Linked DNA regions of Homo sapiens: region 1 is linked to region 2. The links are contacts of gene promoters, found by promoter capture Hi-C in human tissues and cell types (Jung and others, 2019). All regions are on one chromosome and are shown on one strand. Each heading gives the region's core, a stretch centred on a gene start or on the middle of the fragment in contact. The rest is flanking DNA. Distances are from core to core; before and after follow the strand shown. Region 1 overlaps HDAC9 (histone deacetylase 9). Region 2 holds the start of SNX13 (sorting nexin 13).

Evidence for each region. Contacts are between HindIII fragments. The study calls those that stand out against the background at their distance.
Region 1: a fragment that was not itself captured here is called in contact with the fragment with the promoter of SNX13 in region 2 in 1 of the 25 tissues and cell types used here (dorsolateral prefrontal cortex).

The regions. Positions count from the first base shown.
Region 1 is chr7:18,583,172-18,587,371 of GRCh38, reverse strand. HDAC9 (histone deacetylase 9) reads right to left here. Exons shown (of 26, transcript NM_178425.4): 3 at 1,850-2,091. Among named protein-coding and RNA genes, the nearest start is that of HDAC9, 90 kb to the right of the region's middle. The HindIII fragment of the contact is 4,006 bases long and covers 899-4,200 here.
Region 2 is chr7:17,938,383-17,942,684 of GRCh38, reverse strand. SNX13 (sorting nexin 13) reads left to right here and starts at 2,191. Exons shown (of 26, transcript NM_015132.5): 1 at 2,191-2,401. The coding sequence starts at 2,390. The HindIII fragment of the contact is 14,565 bases long and covers 1-4,302 here.

The DNA of each region.
Region 1 (4,200 bases), core at 1,652-4,151, 640 kb before region 2:
ATTATTTTGGAAAATCATTTTAAAAGCTAAATTTTCCTTTTAGCTATCTCATAATTCTTTTTTCTCACAGGAGCCACTTTTCCAATATTTTCCAGATGTCAATAAACCAACACTATTGTTTTGCTTGTGCCAAATGAACAATTAATTATCTACTTGCTACTATTACCTTTTGAGTAAAATTAAGCAATAAATTTCTTTCTAAACAATTTATATTAACTTTATAGCTATCAAAGGCAGCAATATAAATGAAAAGAAGTATCTAAAGCAGTAACTTATCAGTATTGCCCTGTATTTAGGGAAACATGTCTCACTTAAAGCAGCAAAATGAACTACACAGTCCCTTACATCTTAAAGTATGGTGAAAAATGTACATTTTACTCATTTCTCTTTGCCATCTTAACATGCTGGAAGGAAAGAAACAGATCTAGATATCAATGTTTCTATTATTGTTTCAAAGGTCAAATTTAAATAAAGCTTCAGTATTCATTCAAAAATAAGTCTAAAAACTAAAGAAAGGCTACCCATACTTCAAAATGTAGCCATGAGCTACTGATTCCATTTGGGACAAAAGAAAATACTCTCACTTTAAGGTATTTTGTACATCAATAATATACAAGAGTTCTTTTTGGAAAGTTCACTACTAAAAGAAATAAATATATTTTATATCACTTGTCAAAGAGCCTTTTTAGGAATATACGATAATAAAGTTCTTTTAGGATTAAGAAACATCTTGTAAACCAAGTAATATAGAGAAGAAGATAGCATTTTTACTTCCTTAGAAACTGTCATATTAATGTGGTAAAATTACATACTAGTAACATCAGTTATCTGTATCAACCCTCTATCAATGTGCTTGTACTTGATATGCAAGTAATAAAGTTCCTATAATACAAAACAATAAAGTATGAGATAACATAATTTATTACATTCACAAATTAGCAAGTGTTTGTCATCTTTGAAAGTTAGATATAAAAATAAAATTTTTGTTGTAAATCTTTGCTGCTTTTCTGTCACAATAAATTCAAATTAAATAGCCTTGTTTCAACTGTCTTTGTCAAGAAGTTGCAAGATGTTTTACAAATAAAGCTAAAGTAATATTTATCTCTGAAGATACAAAATTTAAAAAAACAGACACATCTAATATTATTAGATAATAAAATAAGTTATTATTAAAAATTCTGGAATATGGATATATTTGTGCTAAAATAATTTAAACAACTTTAGTCTCAAATTGTCAACTACTCCCAAATACTTTCAATAAATTCTTATCTACAGTCTATAAAAACATTTGCACCAGTTTCTCCATTTATAACTCCCTTAAGCTTTTTATTATACTATTATTTTGAATGTGTACATTATGAGATCTTTTCTATAAGGAAGAGTCGGACATACTCAGAACATCTACTTATACACCATGTTTGTTTTTTAAAAACAGCTCTCTTCATATAAGGTGACTAATTTATCCTTTCTCACAAATAGTACATGTAGACTCTTCAGAAATGAAATATGAAATGGGTCTTCTAGGCTCATGCTTCTTCTTGGTGGAGAGCAGATGGGGCAAATGAACAAAATCACGTAGGAGAGAATCTAAAATTAGGATAGGAAGTTACTATTCCCTGCTATTGATTCTATGTGCTAAAGGATAAAGAAGGTCCCTCTGAGAAGCAAAACAGGTTTTTAACAGGTACTTACCCAAAGTTTTCACTAGTAAAATCACAATTCCCTTCAAGCCATATATCCATGTCTTAATCACAGTGAATCTACCCGCAAAGTGTTCCCATGGGCACTGTTCATGCCCACCACGGTGCAGACTCCTGAGTAAGGTCACAGACAAAGAAGCATTTGCTACCTTGATATGCTCCTGAAGCTGAGCCTGGTGCTGCCGTGTCAAGTTCTCATGCTGTTTCTGAAACTCTGCTATCAGAAGCTGCTTCTGGATTTGTTGCTGCTGCTGGATAAGAAGTAATTCCTGCTGCAATTGCTTCTCACGGACAACAGGGTCCACCACGGGCATCATCATCCTGAGGTCTGTCCTTAGGTCTAAAGGTGAGATGGGCTCCAGGCCCACAGGAACTTCTGACTTCACATCCACTAAAGAACCAGAAAAAAAGGGAAATGGGGTGGGGGAGGGTAATAGAAGATTGGAAATTAGCACATTGATTTGGAAACAAATAAAAAGTATAAGACCCTGTACAACAAATTTTATGCCAATGACTCTAGCCATTTCTTTACAATGATGATATAAAGTCATTTGTACATTAGTTTTGATAAATGGGCCATAGGCTAATTTTCATTCAGCAATTTGCACTCTGCCATGAATCCTCCACAATTTCCTTTTACAAACAGGTGACTTCAATTGTTTACTGGTATCAGTCATTCATAAAACTTATTCTACTGAACCACTAACAAAAATCAAGTCAACGAGGACAAAAAAAAAAATGGAATTATGTTGAGGAAAAGATGCCCTAAGAGAGAACTTCCACCATGACTACATTTGTACACTTAAGAACATCTTCCTTTGTAATCAGCGTCAGAAGATATCTTCAACTTTACAAAGTAAAGGTTGTAATATAACGTATTTGCAGCACTATTGGATGTACCAAAGACAGAATAGACAACTGCATGCTAAAATGTGGAAAATGGTAATTAACCACAGCAATGGTGCCAGATCCAAACAACAAGGAGTGAAAGTAGCCAAGTTTCTAAGTCCTGATGTTGAATTGGTAATAATCTGTATCTCAGCTACCTCATTCCTAAAATAAACAAGGTGGAAAAAGTATGAGGAAACTTAAAACAAGTATTTAATCAAACCACTGGAGTAAAAAAGATTTGATGATCTGAGAATAACTACAGATGATAATATTTAAATTTATACAAATTAAATTAGATAATAGATATAAAATTCTTAGCAAAAACTCTTAGTAGATAAGAATGCTGCTTTCAGGGCCCGGCGCGGTGGCTCACGCCTGTAATCACAGCACTTTGGGAGGCCAAGGCAGGCAGATCACGAGGTCAGGAGATCGAGACCATCCTGGCCAACACGGTGAAACCCCTTCTCTACTAAAAATACAAAAAATTAGCCGGGTGTGGTGGCGGGTGCCTGTAGTCCCAGCTGAGGCAGGAGAATGGCGTGAACCTGGGAGGCGGAGCTTGCAGTGAGCCGAGATCTCGCTACTGCACTCCAGCCTGGGTGACAGAGCGAGACTGTCTCAAAAAAAAAAAAAAAAAAAAGAATGCTGCTTTCTAAAGGAATAGTTTAAGCAGGAAAACTCACAGACAGGATATCCAGGTGTACCATTTATTTATTGTTGGTGTCCATTCTGACATTTTGAATGACCAGCATCCATGCCAAACTGGTTGTTAAATATTTTGAGTATGACCCTTACCCACAAGAATCGGGAAAATTCTGTAGTTCAGTGTAAAAGGTTAAGCTAAAGACAACAGGAATTTTGGAGGGGAAACTGTGGCAAACTGGATTGCATGGCTTTTCAAAAGAGGCCAGTCACTACTCAGATAAAACCAACTATTTGTGGGAGTTGTGGGAGAAAAAGAAAATACAGATCCAGTGTAGACAGAAATAACTGTTAACTGAAAATTAAACTGAAAGATTTTTTAGGCTGCTGGAGGGCTCACTTTTTCGTCCAGGCTGTAGTGCAGTGGTGCAATCATAGCTCACTGCAGTCTAGAACTTCCTGGCTCAAGGGATCCTTCTGCCTCAGCCTCCCAAGTATCTGGGACTTTAGGTGCATATCACCATGACCAGCTAAATTTTTCTTTCTTTTTTTTTTTTTTATAGCTGGGGTCAGGGCAGTGGGAGCTGGGGTATTATCTTGCTATGTCGCGAAGGCTGGTCTTGAATTCCTGACCTCAAGTGATCCTCCTGCCTGAGCTCCCAAGTTCTGAGATTATAGGCATGAGTCACAGCACCAGGCTCTTCAAAAGCTTTAAATACTCCAGGAACCAAACAAAATGCTTCAGTCTTTACATGTACCAGTTTTCAAATTCTGTTCTATAATCTAAATGCTTATTTGACTCTTTCATGTGTGTAACATTGAAGATGTTATTAATTTCCCTAGGCCTCTGTTCCCTCATCCGTAACTTGGAGATAGTAACAGTAAGTACTAATAGCATGTAGCACAGCCCTTAACAGATGTTTGTTTTTGCTTTTTTATTATATGAAATGGAAATTTCTTATATATT
Region 2 (4,302 bases), core at 942-3,441:
TGTTAGAAGGTTAGAAGGTAAGTACTATGAAAAAAACAGAAGCAAGGAAGGGAGGATTCTGGGGAAGGGGCAATATTTTAAATGAGATGATTAGGGTAGGCTTCTTTGAAAAAAGATGACTTTTAAGCAAAGATTGGACAGAAGTGGAAGATCTAGCCATGCAGGTATTTGGTGGAAAGATCTTTGCAGATAGAAACTATACACAGTGTAAGGGCCTCAGGGCAAGAAGATGCCTTGGTGTTACAGAAGCAGGGAGCAGGTCTGTGTAACTGGAACAAAGTGCTTAGCAGAAATGAGGTCAGAGGGGTGGAGGTGAGGTAGGACTTGGGAGGCCAGCTAGCATAGGATTTTTAGGTTGCAGAAAAGACTCAGGCTGAGAAAATTAGGAAGCCATTGGAAGAGCGACTACTTTTGGTTTCCTTGTAAGTCTGTAGACAAACTTCTGAAAGTTAAAGGCATATTCATGTCATATCACAGATTGGTTCAATACTCAAGTGTCAACACTTAATGCCTTGCTTCTAGAAAAGATAAAAAGATGTAGTAAATAAAACTGAATACTCAAGCCAGACAACTACATTGCTGTTTTAATTTACTAGCTGGTATCTTAAATATTAATGAACCTCCTTCTCTGTTTTCTTATTTACAGGTTGGAACACTATCTTTTTCCAGGTTCCTTGTTGTCTCTAGTATCTCTTGGTATCCTTTGATACCTCAGTCCAGGTAGGATTTCCATGCTCATTTTCTATTTGTGGCTTCATCTGTCAATACCAGTAACACATTTTATTGTATTGCAGAGGTCAGAATTTTGCTGGTCCAGCAATGTGGAAATGATGTACAAAATGCAGATTAAAACAACAAGAAAAACTACTTTGCTTCAATTAGTTGAATTGAGCAAAATCAGTTTTTCTTGAATTTTTTGCATGACTGCTTAAATGAACCGTTTTGTTTCCTTGACACGATAGAGATAATACAAGGTTTGCAATGCCCTTATTGTTTTGAGACTGTAAGAGTAATACATTAAGTAAATTTCATTTAGCACAACAGTACTATTGTTAAATGGAGGGAAAAGATTCTGGTAAAAGGGAAGAAACTCCTGGCTTTAGTTTTCTAAAATGCTTTTGTACCTCTTGTAAGAATGACATGGAGGTGTTTTTAATGTCAAGTCTGAAAATTTGCTTTTCAATTTACTTGGAAACTGGTTTCTAATACAAAACAGGGTAGCACACTTTCCCAGCATGTTCAGGTAAACTACTTTCATCACAATTCAGGTAGAAGTGACTGCCTTTAATTCCGTACATCGCAAACCATCTAGTGGTAGATCTAGAATGGCGTCAGTCTCAGGGACTTCTATGCACATTGAGTTCCAGAGTTCAATTCCATTTAAGTTGGGACTATTTACAATGACATTTGCTGAAATTTGCTCACCTTGATATACAAGCATATTGTATTAAGCAGCTAGTAAACCTGTGGAGATAGCAGGTAAAACGTAAAGCCTGTTTTACGTTTTTTTAGAGGTGCATTACTTGTAGCATAACTAAACCTTCATTGTTAGGCAGGTGCTGGCCAATTACATCAGCAAGTCCTAACTCCGCTAGGATCGGGGTAAAGCCGATAAGCCGCATCATATCTACAACCTGTCTCGGACCCCTGTAAAGAACTCACTGAGGATTGGTAGGGACAAAGGGAAGTTTCTGTCAAAGTTTAGGAGAAAAGGGCCGCGCAGGGAGCTGTTTCAAATAACACTTAAATCCCAGGAGAAGAAAGCCGAACCCCAACTCTTCGGTCGCCGCGGGGCCAGGGAGACGCGAGAGGGAAGTTTTTCTAAAGGAAATCTGCCGCCTTGTCCCCAAGACCAGCGAGGTCCGCAGCGCCATCAGTCAAGTGTCGGCCTCTGGCATTTTCTCCTCTCCCCAGGGCGGGCCAACGCTAGTGGGCGGTGGATGATGCGCCGGCCCCAAGGGCGCGCACGTCCATTCCCGGAAGGCTCGGGCGCTGGGGCCCCTCTGCACTCCCAGCGGTCCCAAGTTGGCCCAGGCGCCCGGTCCCGGGGTCCTACAAGTCAGCGCCAAGCCGACTGCCGACAGCCTACCTCCGCTTCTCCGCGCGCCGGCGCTATGGAGACGGTCACGAGACGCCAGCAGCCCCTGCGCCCGCCAATGGGAACGCACGTTGCAGCGAGACGCGGACGTCGCTCTTCCAAGATGGCGGCGCGTCCGTCGCGAGCGACCGGGCCGAGGGGAGGCCAGCGAAGCCGAGTAAAACCGCCGCCCGGGAGAAGACTGAAGGAGCAGTTGCCGCCGTTGGCGGCGGCCCGAGCAGTTTTCGCTGCTGCTACGGCTGTTGCCATGAGGCGAGGCTAGGGAGGACCTCACTTCCCCGGGGTGTAATAATGTTAACTGAGGTAAGCGGCGACGGTGGCCAGTGTTTACCTGTGAAATGGGGAAGGGGCCGGCGCCAGCCCGTCAGAGAACATCATCTGTACGGAAGGTGGGCCTGACCCTTCGCCGTGGGCTCCAGGGCCCGAGGAGCAGCGGGGATCCTACAAGTGCCCTCAGAGTAGGAGCTGTGCTGACTCAACAGAGTCCCACCACCTCCGGCTGCCAGTGCCTCGCCTTTCGCAGTTGCCACTTGCCACTCGCCCCTGGCACTGGTCTCCCTCCTGCTGTCACTCCCTTCTAACTCATCGCTCCCTTCTTCGTGTCCCCTTACACGCTACTCTGTGGCAGCGTTGGCCTTTCCACGTTACTGCTGGTTCTTGTGATCCTATGGTTTGCCCTAGGTCTCCTTTCTCTGGTCCCTGGGCTCCAGGGCCCTCCGCCTCCGAGCTCGGTCAGCACCCTGGGGTTGTTGCTCGGCCCGACCGGTTTGTTTCCCACCCTCTACTTTGACTGCTTCATGAAGTGGACTTTTTTATCTCAAGCTGCACATGTATGGCTCAGTTGGGTCATCCCCCTCCCCCACATCCATCACCTTTTCGGTTAAATCGTGGTCATCACAAAGTTCAGTTTAGCATCTGCCACCTTGATTTGCGTGTGGCCCCCTTGTTACTCCCTATGGAATAGTTTTTTTCTTTGGACCTGAAATGGAAGTAGGGCAACTATGACGAACCAATCAATTTCCCTTTTCTAGTGCCTAATGGGCATTGCAAAAAGCCGACTTTTTGAAGAAGTAGAGTTTGCCTTTACTAGCAACACTTTAAGGGGAAGAACTAAATCGGTGCAACTAGGTACTTGACCCAGGTTAGCCCAGTTATGTGTTGTAGTATCTGCAGGTGTAGGTGTCACTGAACATAAAATACTGAACCTTGTGATTTGATGAAATACCTTTTTCGAAGCCTTTCACTTTAAGTACTGTGAGGATCCTGACGTGAGGAACTGACCGGATTGGGCATTTTTATGGGCTGAACTGAATAGGAAACAGTTTTAGTGGGCAATGGGAAGTATTCCTACATGGGCCAAAAAGGAAATACAAACATTTGTAGGTGAGTGGCTTTTATTTTGTGAAAAGTGATGGTAAAGCACGTACTTGCCTGAAATTTCAGGTCCTTGGAACGTGACTAACTTTGAGGAACTTTATACTTTGCTGTTTGTACTTAATCTAAGCACAGAGCCTGGCATATGATAAATACTTACTGGTTGATTGTAACTTCTACAGTACGTATTTTTAGTTGTTTGAAGTTCATTTTATATTTCTAAATTCTACAGATTTTTCATTCTTGGAGTTAATTGAGATTATGGTTATAGCATAAGTTTGTGTTGTGATTAGCAGTAATAGATTAGAAAAAAGAGTTATAAGTAGCAGAAGTTTCATTTTTACCTTAAGTGTGATATTTTAGTGGGAACAGTTAGCCTTATAATAAGTGTTTAGTGTTGTCTCTAATGTGTAATATTATATGATATGATCTTTTCCTTAAACTTAGCTTATGTTAACATGTTTCAGAGTTTTAATACTTTCAAATGAACTACTTGTGTGTCTGCCAGTAAAATGATTTGGAAAGATGGAGCTTTCTCAGCTTCTGTATTTTAATGCAATTTTGCGTTTTAGGGAAATATTTTAAACAGTAAATCAATGATAATATTAAGTAAACTGTACTTTAGTACTTTTTGTGTGAACACTGCACAACTTATAAGTGGCAGAAGCAGGATTCCAACCTTGGCAGTTGCCACCTAGCCCATTCTGTTAACTTTTCTAGATTGCCTCGCCAAAGTAAGACCCAGATTAAATTGTACTAAAGTCTTCCCTATAGTTTTCAGTAGTCGTTTATAGATTAGGAAACTGAAGCCAGAGACTCTTGTCCAAGGT